2 separate regions of the Homo sapiens genome follow, and region 2 is linked to region 1. The links are contacts of gene promoters, found by promoter capture Hi-C in blood cells and fetal thymus (Javierre and others, 2016). All regions are on one chromosome and are shown on one strand. Each heading gives the region's core, a stretch centred on a gene start or on the middle of the fragment in contact. The rest is flanking DNA. Distances are from core to core; before and after follow the strand shown. Region 1 holds the start of ZNF2 (zinc finger protein 2). Region 2 has its middle 39 kb from the start of MAL.

Region 1 (3,995 bases), core at 1,033-3,532:
TTAGATGGCCTAAACAGCCCTCTTAATAAAAAAACTAAAAATGCTGAAAAATTGCAAACATCTTTATAAACACACTGATGAGCAGGCATGAAAGTGAGGAATTTGTAAACATTTAAAAAAATAAAGTGAAATGGGCCAGGTGCAGTGGCTCATGCCTATAATCCTAGCACTCTGGGAGGCCGAAGAGGGTGGATTGCTTGAGCCCGAGTTTGAAACCAGCCTGGGCAACATGGTAAAACCCCATGTCTACAAAAAAATACAAAAAGTAGCCAGACATGGTGGTGCATGCCTGTAGTCCCAGCTACTCTTGAGGCTGAGATGGGAGGACTACGTGAGCCCAGGAGGTGGAGGTTGCAGTGAGCTGAGAGCATGCCACTGCATTCTGGCCTGGCTGACACAGCCAGAGCCTGTCTCAAAAAATAAATAAAGTGAGAGCTAGAATTCTGAGAATCGAGCAACAAACCTGACTTTTAGACTGCTAAATCCTAGAGCACATAAACTTCCACTTTGGCAGCTACCTGGAAGCGGTAAAGACAAAGCCTAGGGCCTGCCAGTGGGTGGGGAATATTCTAGAAGGAAACACTTTCAGGACCCCAGTTTCCACCCTCAGTATAAGGCTAAATAATAAAAACCACCACACAGAAGGGAACAAAAAAAAAAAAGTATTTCTCTTATGGATGTTGTGACTTTAATCAAGCTCTAATCTCCTAGGAAGGTCCAAACCCCTTAGTACAACACAAAGGCAGCCACAACCTGGCCTTACCTCAAGATAGTTATTGGCCCCTAAACCTCATCCACAAGGCATTCATTTTGCTACTAATTATTTTCACTTTTATCCTCTAGACTATGCCTTTGCATGTACTATTCACTGTTTAGATCACACTTTTTTTTTCTTAAGTATTTAAGTATACCAGTGAAAGGAATCCTTTCCCACCTTTCCCGGCCATAGTTAATAGCTTCCTCCATTGTACTCTCATAGTATGTTGAATGTGACATAATTATAGAACATACTGCCTCTATTGTGATTTTACATTCTGATTTTTTCCATTGGACCAAGAGTTCATTTGGGGCAGTAACTTACTCATATTTGTAACTGTGCCTTGCTTATGGTGAGCAATTTGGATTTTTTGAATGAAAGTGTAGTCTTATGGAGATGGAGAGTAGAAGGATGGTTAACAGACTGGGAAGGGTTGGCGGGGTGGGGAAGTGGGGATAGTTAATGGGTACAAAAAATAGAATAAGAAATAGTATAACTAGTATTTGATAGCACATCAGAGTAATTACAGCCAATAATATTGTATATTTTAAAGTAACTAAAAGAATATAACTGGATCGTTTGTAACACAAAGGACAAATGCTTGAGGTGATGGATATCCCATTTGTCCTGATGAGATTATTACTTATTGCATGCCTGTGTCAAAATATCTCAGGTGGCCCATAAATGTTCACACCTACTGTGTACCCACAAAAACTTAAAAAAAACCCAAACCACTAATAAATTAACCTGGAAAAACGTAGCTTTGTTCCTGAAGTAAGATTTTATCATATTCTTTGTAATTTTCAGTCTTCCCTGAGATGTAGCTCAGTGGTTCCTAGCTTTAGCTGCACATTAGAGTCACCTGCAGCTCTTTTCAAACTGTCGCTCCACAGCTGGGCCTCAGGCATCAATGTCGAAAGCTCTCCGGGTGATTCCAGCTTGCAGCCAGGGCCGTTCCAGCAACTCCAAGGCTGGCTGGTGTGCGCTGAAGCTGTCGGGAGTCGGACCAGCTGCACAGTTAATACATATGTGTCCTAGGCTCCTCTCTCCTTCCAACGCAAATATGTGTACAAACCCTGCCTGGAACCGCAGCCCTGCTCTCAGAATCAAATTCCTGAAAGTGGGCAAGCGGAAGCGGAAATAAGCCCTCTCCCAACGCCAGCTGACTCGATTTCGTCTCGGTCTTCCCCAGAGCTGGACACGAGGCACCATGATCAGAGAGACACATTCCCTGCGGACGGCGCTCCCATCGGATACTGGAGGGACGCGACACTAGAGGCAGGCAGTACTTCAGGGTGACCATAAGTCTCCCAAACAGCCACAACGGCTCGCTCTCCCAGCTAAGGCGACAGCGCTGCCATTTTGGATCCTGTTCAGCCACGGGAAGCCGGCGTTTGCACACATTTTCGGACGTCATATTAAAGCGCACCGGACGCCGAGACTTCTGGGAGATGAAGTCCTTGCGAAGGCCCCGCATTGATTGGGAGCGCAGTCGCCAGGACCCTGTGCGCAGGCGCGTTGGTTTCCCGACCTGAAGAGGCGCCGTCTTCCCGGGTCCCGAGCACTCTGTGCCGGAGGTGAGGGTTGTGGGTGTGTGTCTTCAAGGAGCGGAGTGAGCGCAGCAGCCGAGAGAGGGGACATGAGAACTTTGGGGAGGTGCTGTGGGAGCAAAACGGGGTGACACGGGCGAGGCCAGCCTGCAGAGCGTGTGTCGCGACGTCTCGGTGCGGACGGAAAGTTGTGCATCCACCCCCGTGTGTGCGTGTGTCCCGTGGGGTCTGGGCACCCATTGTATGTCGGTCCCGGACTTTAAGGTTGGAGGTTTGGAGTCTTCCTCCGCCTCTCCCGTTTCTTCTTCCCATAATGGGTGCTTAATGAACGTGGGTGGAATTGACACCAAATCTAGGATGCTGCCGCTCCGTCTTTGCCAGACAGCGCCTCAGATTGCCTCATTTAGCTCCCTGCCCTGGGCCTCCGCACGAGTGCTGGAGGGCTTCATGGAGGAGGTGGGATTTGACGTGAAAGAAAAACAACAACAACAAAACAAAAACCACGAAAGAAGCAGCTAAGCGTTAGGCAGATTTGAGCTGGAGATAGTTTTTACAGAAATGCAGGAACAGTGGTAGACAAGGTTGAAGAAAAGGTACGCTGGGAGCCAGGGCCCGGGACTCAGAGAATCAGGACAAGACTCAGTAGGCAAGGTGGCTTATATAGGTGTGATCCAGGGACTGACACGAATGAAACTATTTGGAGACAGTTATTCTAGAGGTCACATTCAGGACTAGAGAGGGGAAAGGACCAGTAGCAGAGAGCTACTTAGGAATGTATGGTAGTTTTGGAGTAAGATGTTGTGGACTTGAATTATGGTGGTGGTAGTGAAAGGGAAGGATACAGATGACACTGCAAAAGAAGAGTCAAAAGGGCCTGGTGACTAGATTTGGGAGGAAAGAGAGTGAGGTAAGAGTTTGAATTTGGGACACCTGGGAGAACAATAAAACATCTGATACAAATGTAAAGCCAGGAAGAGGCGTTGATGTGTGGAATTGCCTAAAGGAAGATAGTTTTGAGGTGATGGTGGAACGCCTGATTTAAGGTTTGCAGTCATTTGGAAATGCAGGATGAGTCTGGAAGAATGCAATACAGTTGTATTGTAAAATTACAATACAATTACAGGACATGGACATCTGTAGAGTTTGAAAATGGAGCCCTGAATGTGGATGGACTTTCTGAGGGATGGCAAAAACGAAGAAAGTACAAAGACTGAGCTATGGGCAGCATCCATGTTTCCAGGGCAAAAGTGGGGAAAAAGAGTCACAGAAAGACAGCAATTTTAGTGGTTGGAAGAAAAGCTAGTGCAGTATCATAGCAGTTACAGTAACCACTTGAATAAGCAGAAGCTTGTCCGAACAGTGAAAAGCTACAGAGAAATAGATAATATGGCCGGGCACAGTGGCTCACGCCTGTAAGTCCCAGCACTTTGGGAGTCTGAGGCGGGCGGATCACGAGGTCAGGAGATCGAGACCATCCTGGCTAACACGGTGAAACCCCGTCTCTACTAAAAAAATACAAAAAATTAGCCGGGCGTGGTGGCGGGCGCCTGTAGTCCCGGCTACTCGGGAGGCTGAGGCAGGAGAATGGCATGAACCCGGCAGGCGGAGCTTGCAGTGAGCCAAGATTGCGCCACTGCACTCCAGCCTGGGTGACAGAGCGAGACTCAGTCTCAAAAAAAAAAAAAAAA
Region 2 (3,995 bases), core at 721-3,220, 180 kb before region 1:
TGGACAAGAGACCCTGGGAAGCAGCATGTACTGTGTGCACCTGAATGCGAGCATCAGTAGTTTCCTTCATCTTGAAACATTACACTGTCAAAGGGAGACTTCGCGGCATCCGGGTTCCCTCTGTGGGCAATGCCCGTGTGTGCCCTTCATGGAGCCCAGTTCTCCTGGGCCCTGGGTGGGACCAGGAGACCCCTGCTGCCTGGTGTGCTGATGACACGATACTTGCCCATCTGGAGTTGGGCCTTTTTCTCCCAGCCGGAAGTTTTTGAGGCTTCCTGGTACAGCCTGCGGTCACCCGAGTACCAGAGAAGGGAAGGAGAGGCAAAGCTGTCATGGAAAGGAAGACAAGTAGTAGAAAAGGCATCTGGGGTTGGCAGTGCATGAAACCTGCCTTGCTGAAAGAATGCCCAGCTATGCAGAAAAACCTGCCACCAGGCTACCCACCCCCGGTGCTCCTCCCCATTTCTCAGCTCCTCCTCTGCCCCAGCCCAAACCCATACTTCCCAGCCACAGCCCAAAGCCCTGCCACACTGACCTGAGAGCACGCATCCTCCTGACACCTCATTTGCCCTTCCCATGGAGTCATTACTTGGGTAGTGTCTGTCACAGCGTGTAAAGTTCACTTCTCAGCAGCAGTCCAGCCCCTGCAGCAGCCCCCGCCTGCCCATGAGAGGCTTCCAGCTGCTCTGTGCAACGGAGCAGATCCACTCTCCACAGAGGCTATCCTCCTTATTCTTTCCCATCTCAATGCTATCTCGCCAACCCAGCTGATTGGTCTCCCTCCCCTCTGTCCCAGGAGTGAACTTCCCAACCCTTAGGGATATTTCCCTCTCTGGGTCTTTCTCAGGGAACCTCCCCTCCTGCCGTCTGTGCCATTCCAATGGTTATGGTTATTTTGGCCAACACTCACCATGTGCCAGAGAAGCTTGTTAAGCCATCATGAGGACCGGATGATAGAGGGGCCAGCGGGACCCCCACCTCCTCTATTTGATGGACAGGGACACAGAGGCACAGGGGAGTTCAATGACCTTGCCACCAGGCAGAGCTGGGATTCAAACCCAGGAGGAACGCTCTTGCCTGGTGCGTGGATTGAGGGTGAGAGTGGAGGCAGAAAGCTGGCCTCAGGCTTCCTCAGCCCTGGCCACCCTGCCTGGGGAGCTTTCAACAATGCAGCCTCCCTTACCTGTTCAAGCAGAATCTTTGGGCAGGAACCCGACCCTCAGACTTTCTTGAATTCTGCAAAGGGTTCTAGGAGGAGAAGGACTCAAACAGTGCTGTCCAGAGGATGGTGCTCAGGTATCCATGGTTGTTTTTTATTTGTTTGTTTGTTTGTTTGTTTGTTTTGAGATGGAGTTTTGCTCTTGTCACCCAGGCTAGAGTGCAATGGCGCAATCTCGGCTCACTGCAACTTCCGCCTCCCGGGTTTAAGCAATTCTCCTGCCTCAGCCTCCCGAGTAGCTGGGATTACAGGCACCCAGGACCATGCCTGGCTAATTTTTGTATTTTTAGTAGAGACGGAGTTTCACCATGTTGGCCAGGCTGGTCTTGAACTCCTGACCTCAGGTGATCCACCAGTCTCAGCCTCCCAAAGTGCTGGGATTACAGGTGTGAGGCACTGCACCCAGCTGTATCCATGTTTTTAACAAGCTCTTTGCCCCATATCATGTTTTTTGCTTGCTTCTTTTTCTTTTGAAACAGTTTTCAAAATAATAAGCATCCTCCAAAAGTGACCAAAGAAGTTTTTGTTTTAAGTATCATTTTGAACTTGTGGATTTCAATTTAGTGCATTCCAATCCATTGTAGTGATAAGAAGCTCATGTGTTCCCATCTTTGGCCAGCAGGAGGCTGCTGAGTCCTTTTGACCAGAGCCCAGCAGCCTTTGGAAGTTTTCTCACCATCTGCTGTGGTAACATTCAGGCTCAACCTCCCTCTCCAAACCTGGCATCAGCCATTTCTTCCTGGACTCCAATCTGGGGGTTATTACCCCAGTTCTTATATTCTACTCTTAACCAACTTTCTAAATATAGGAGGCTCTTCTCCGTGTTCTAGAGAAGAATGGGTTAACACACCTGTTGTTAAGCTCCATCCTTCCTTAAGAAGTCCTTTCAAGTTTAAGTTCAGCCTTTTGGGAAATGTATACATGACTGCGTGTATTTGCTTATTTAAAAAAAAAAAGGATTCTGCCAAAGTTATACTTGAAATATACTCACTGTAAATGGCTCGCTGCAATCAAATATTTCTCCACTTTGAGGGCCAGTCCCAGCCACTAAAAAATATCTCCTGCTCTGAGAAAATACACAAATAAGCATTAAAATGAGAGGGAAGTTTAGGCCACCAGGAAATTTGGAAAACTAAGTATGAGTTTTAATTAAAAAGTAAATACAAATACTCAAAGATTTCACACCTAAAAAGAATCCAACCTAGACTACTTGAGACAGAAATGAGATAACAAACTCTACTACTGGGTTTACATCCACCTGTAGTCCTTGGCTGTGGTCCCTCCTACTGTTTAGGAGCCAGAGGGGTGTGGAAAGAGGAAGTGACTTTCTTCCGCACAACATTGATTCTGCAACACTGAAGCCATTGCAGGAAGGCTCCCACGATGTTTGAGTAGATTCCCAAATGCTCAGGGACCCCTGGCATGTCACGAAAGGTAGGACAGGGATCCCTAAGCCATAGCTGGAACCCGGAGAGAGGAAGCCACTGATGGGCTCCGTGGCACTGCAGGCATGATGCCCCATCAAGACTCCTAATTCCCCACGCCAACCTTGGCTGAGGCTCTGGCAGGCCACCCTCTGGGCTCATTCTAGGAGCCTCTACCTGCCCCTGCCCTCAGGTGTGAAATCTGGTTTTTGGGGGAGACCCACAAGTGTCCTACACCATGTCCAGGCAGCACCATGCCCTGCCCGTGTGACCTTGGGCCCCAGTCCCCTCCAGGACAGCACCACCTCCTGGACTATGGCGAAGATTAAATGTGCAAATGTAAGTAACGTGCATATGGCTACATCTGGCCAGGGAAGCTTCTGATGGCAGGAAGGGGACTGCGACCCCTCTGCAGACACTGGCTGGCAAAATGGGGCCCAGGTGCCGTTGCTGGCCCCACGCCTGGCACTGGTGAGCTGGCAGTAAGCAGCGGAAGGTAGCAAATGGCAGTTCTCTGGTCTTGCCAAGGGAGTTAGAGTTGCTGCGTGGACTACATGAGACAGTCAGAGTGAGTGCATCTTATAAACTGTAAAGTACCTGGTGAATGTGAGGAGGTGGTGGTGTCATCGCAGATTCATTCAAAAGAATGTACTTTGATGTCCCTCCCTCCCCACCTATTTTTTCAGACCCTGGGCTGGGCACCAGGAATACAGCAGTGAATGACACAGACGGCCAGGCTGCTGGAGGTGTTTCCCACCACCACCTCCTCACATTGACCAGGTACTTTACAGTTTATAAGATGCTCCCACTCAGACCATCTCATTTAGTCCACATGACAACTCTGACTCCCTTGGAAAGTCCAGAGAACTGCCATCTGATACCTTCTGCTGCTTGAATTCCTTGCCGAGGAGTCTATGCCTTGTGGTCACCTTCCTATTCTAGTCTGGCTTTTCATTTCCTTTTACCTTTTTCTCCTTAACAGCCCATAAATCCAAAAGTGTTTTTTCTCCTCAGGACAACCACAGTGGAAGCCTGAGAAGGGAAAGGGTGACATACCTATATCTATTTATTGGCCAGTTGTAGGATACAAACTGTTAGTCCCAGAAAACCAGGGATATACTTTGAAAAGCAGAACCTGAAGTTGTGTATCTTTTGGCTGAGATACACAGAAGGGAGTGAAGGTCGGGCACAATGGCTCACACCTATAATCCCAGCACTTTGGGAGGTCAAGGCAGGAGGATTGCTTGAGGCTAGGAGTTCAAGACCAGCCTGGGCAACATAGCAAGGCCCTGTCTCTACAAAAAATAAAATTAAAATTGGCCAGGCATTGTGGTGTGTGGCTGTAGTACTAG

What was found. Contacts are between HindIII fragments. The CHiCAGO score rates a contact against its expected background, and 5 or more counts as called.
Region 2: a fragment that was not itself captured here is called in contact with the fragment with the promoter of ZNF2 in region 1 in 4 of 17 cell types (fetal thymus, naive CD8 T cells, non-activated CD4 T cells and 1 more); the score reaches 10.2 in fetal thymus.

The regions. Positions count from the first base shown.
Region 1 is chr2:95,163,527-95,167,521 of GRCh38, forward strand. ZNF2 (zinc finger protein 2) reads left to right here and starts at 2,283. Exons shown (of 5, transcript NM_021088.4): 1 at 2,283-2,334. RefSeq lists enhancers at 1,271-1,907, 1,908-2,542, 1,970-2,399. The HindIII fragment of the contact is 3,796 bases long and covers 1-3,652 here.
Region 2 is chr2:94,984,737-94,988,731 of GRCh38, forward strand. No RefSeq gene overlaps it. Among named protein-coding and RNA genes, the nearest start is that of MAL, 39 kb to the right of the region's middle. The HindIII fragment of the contact is 2,095 bases long and covers 924-3,018 here.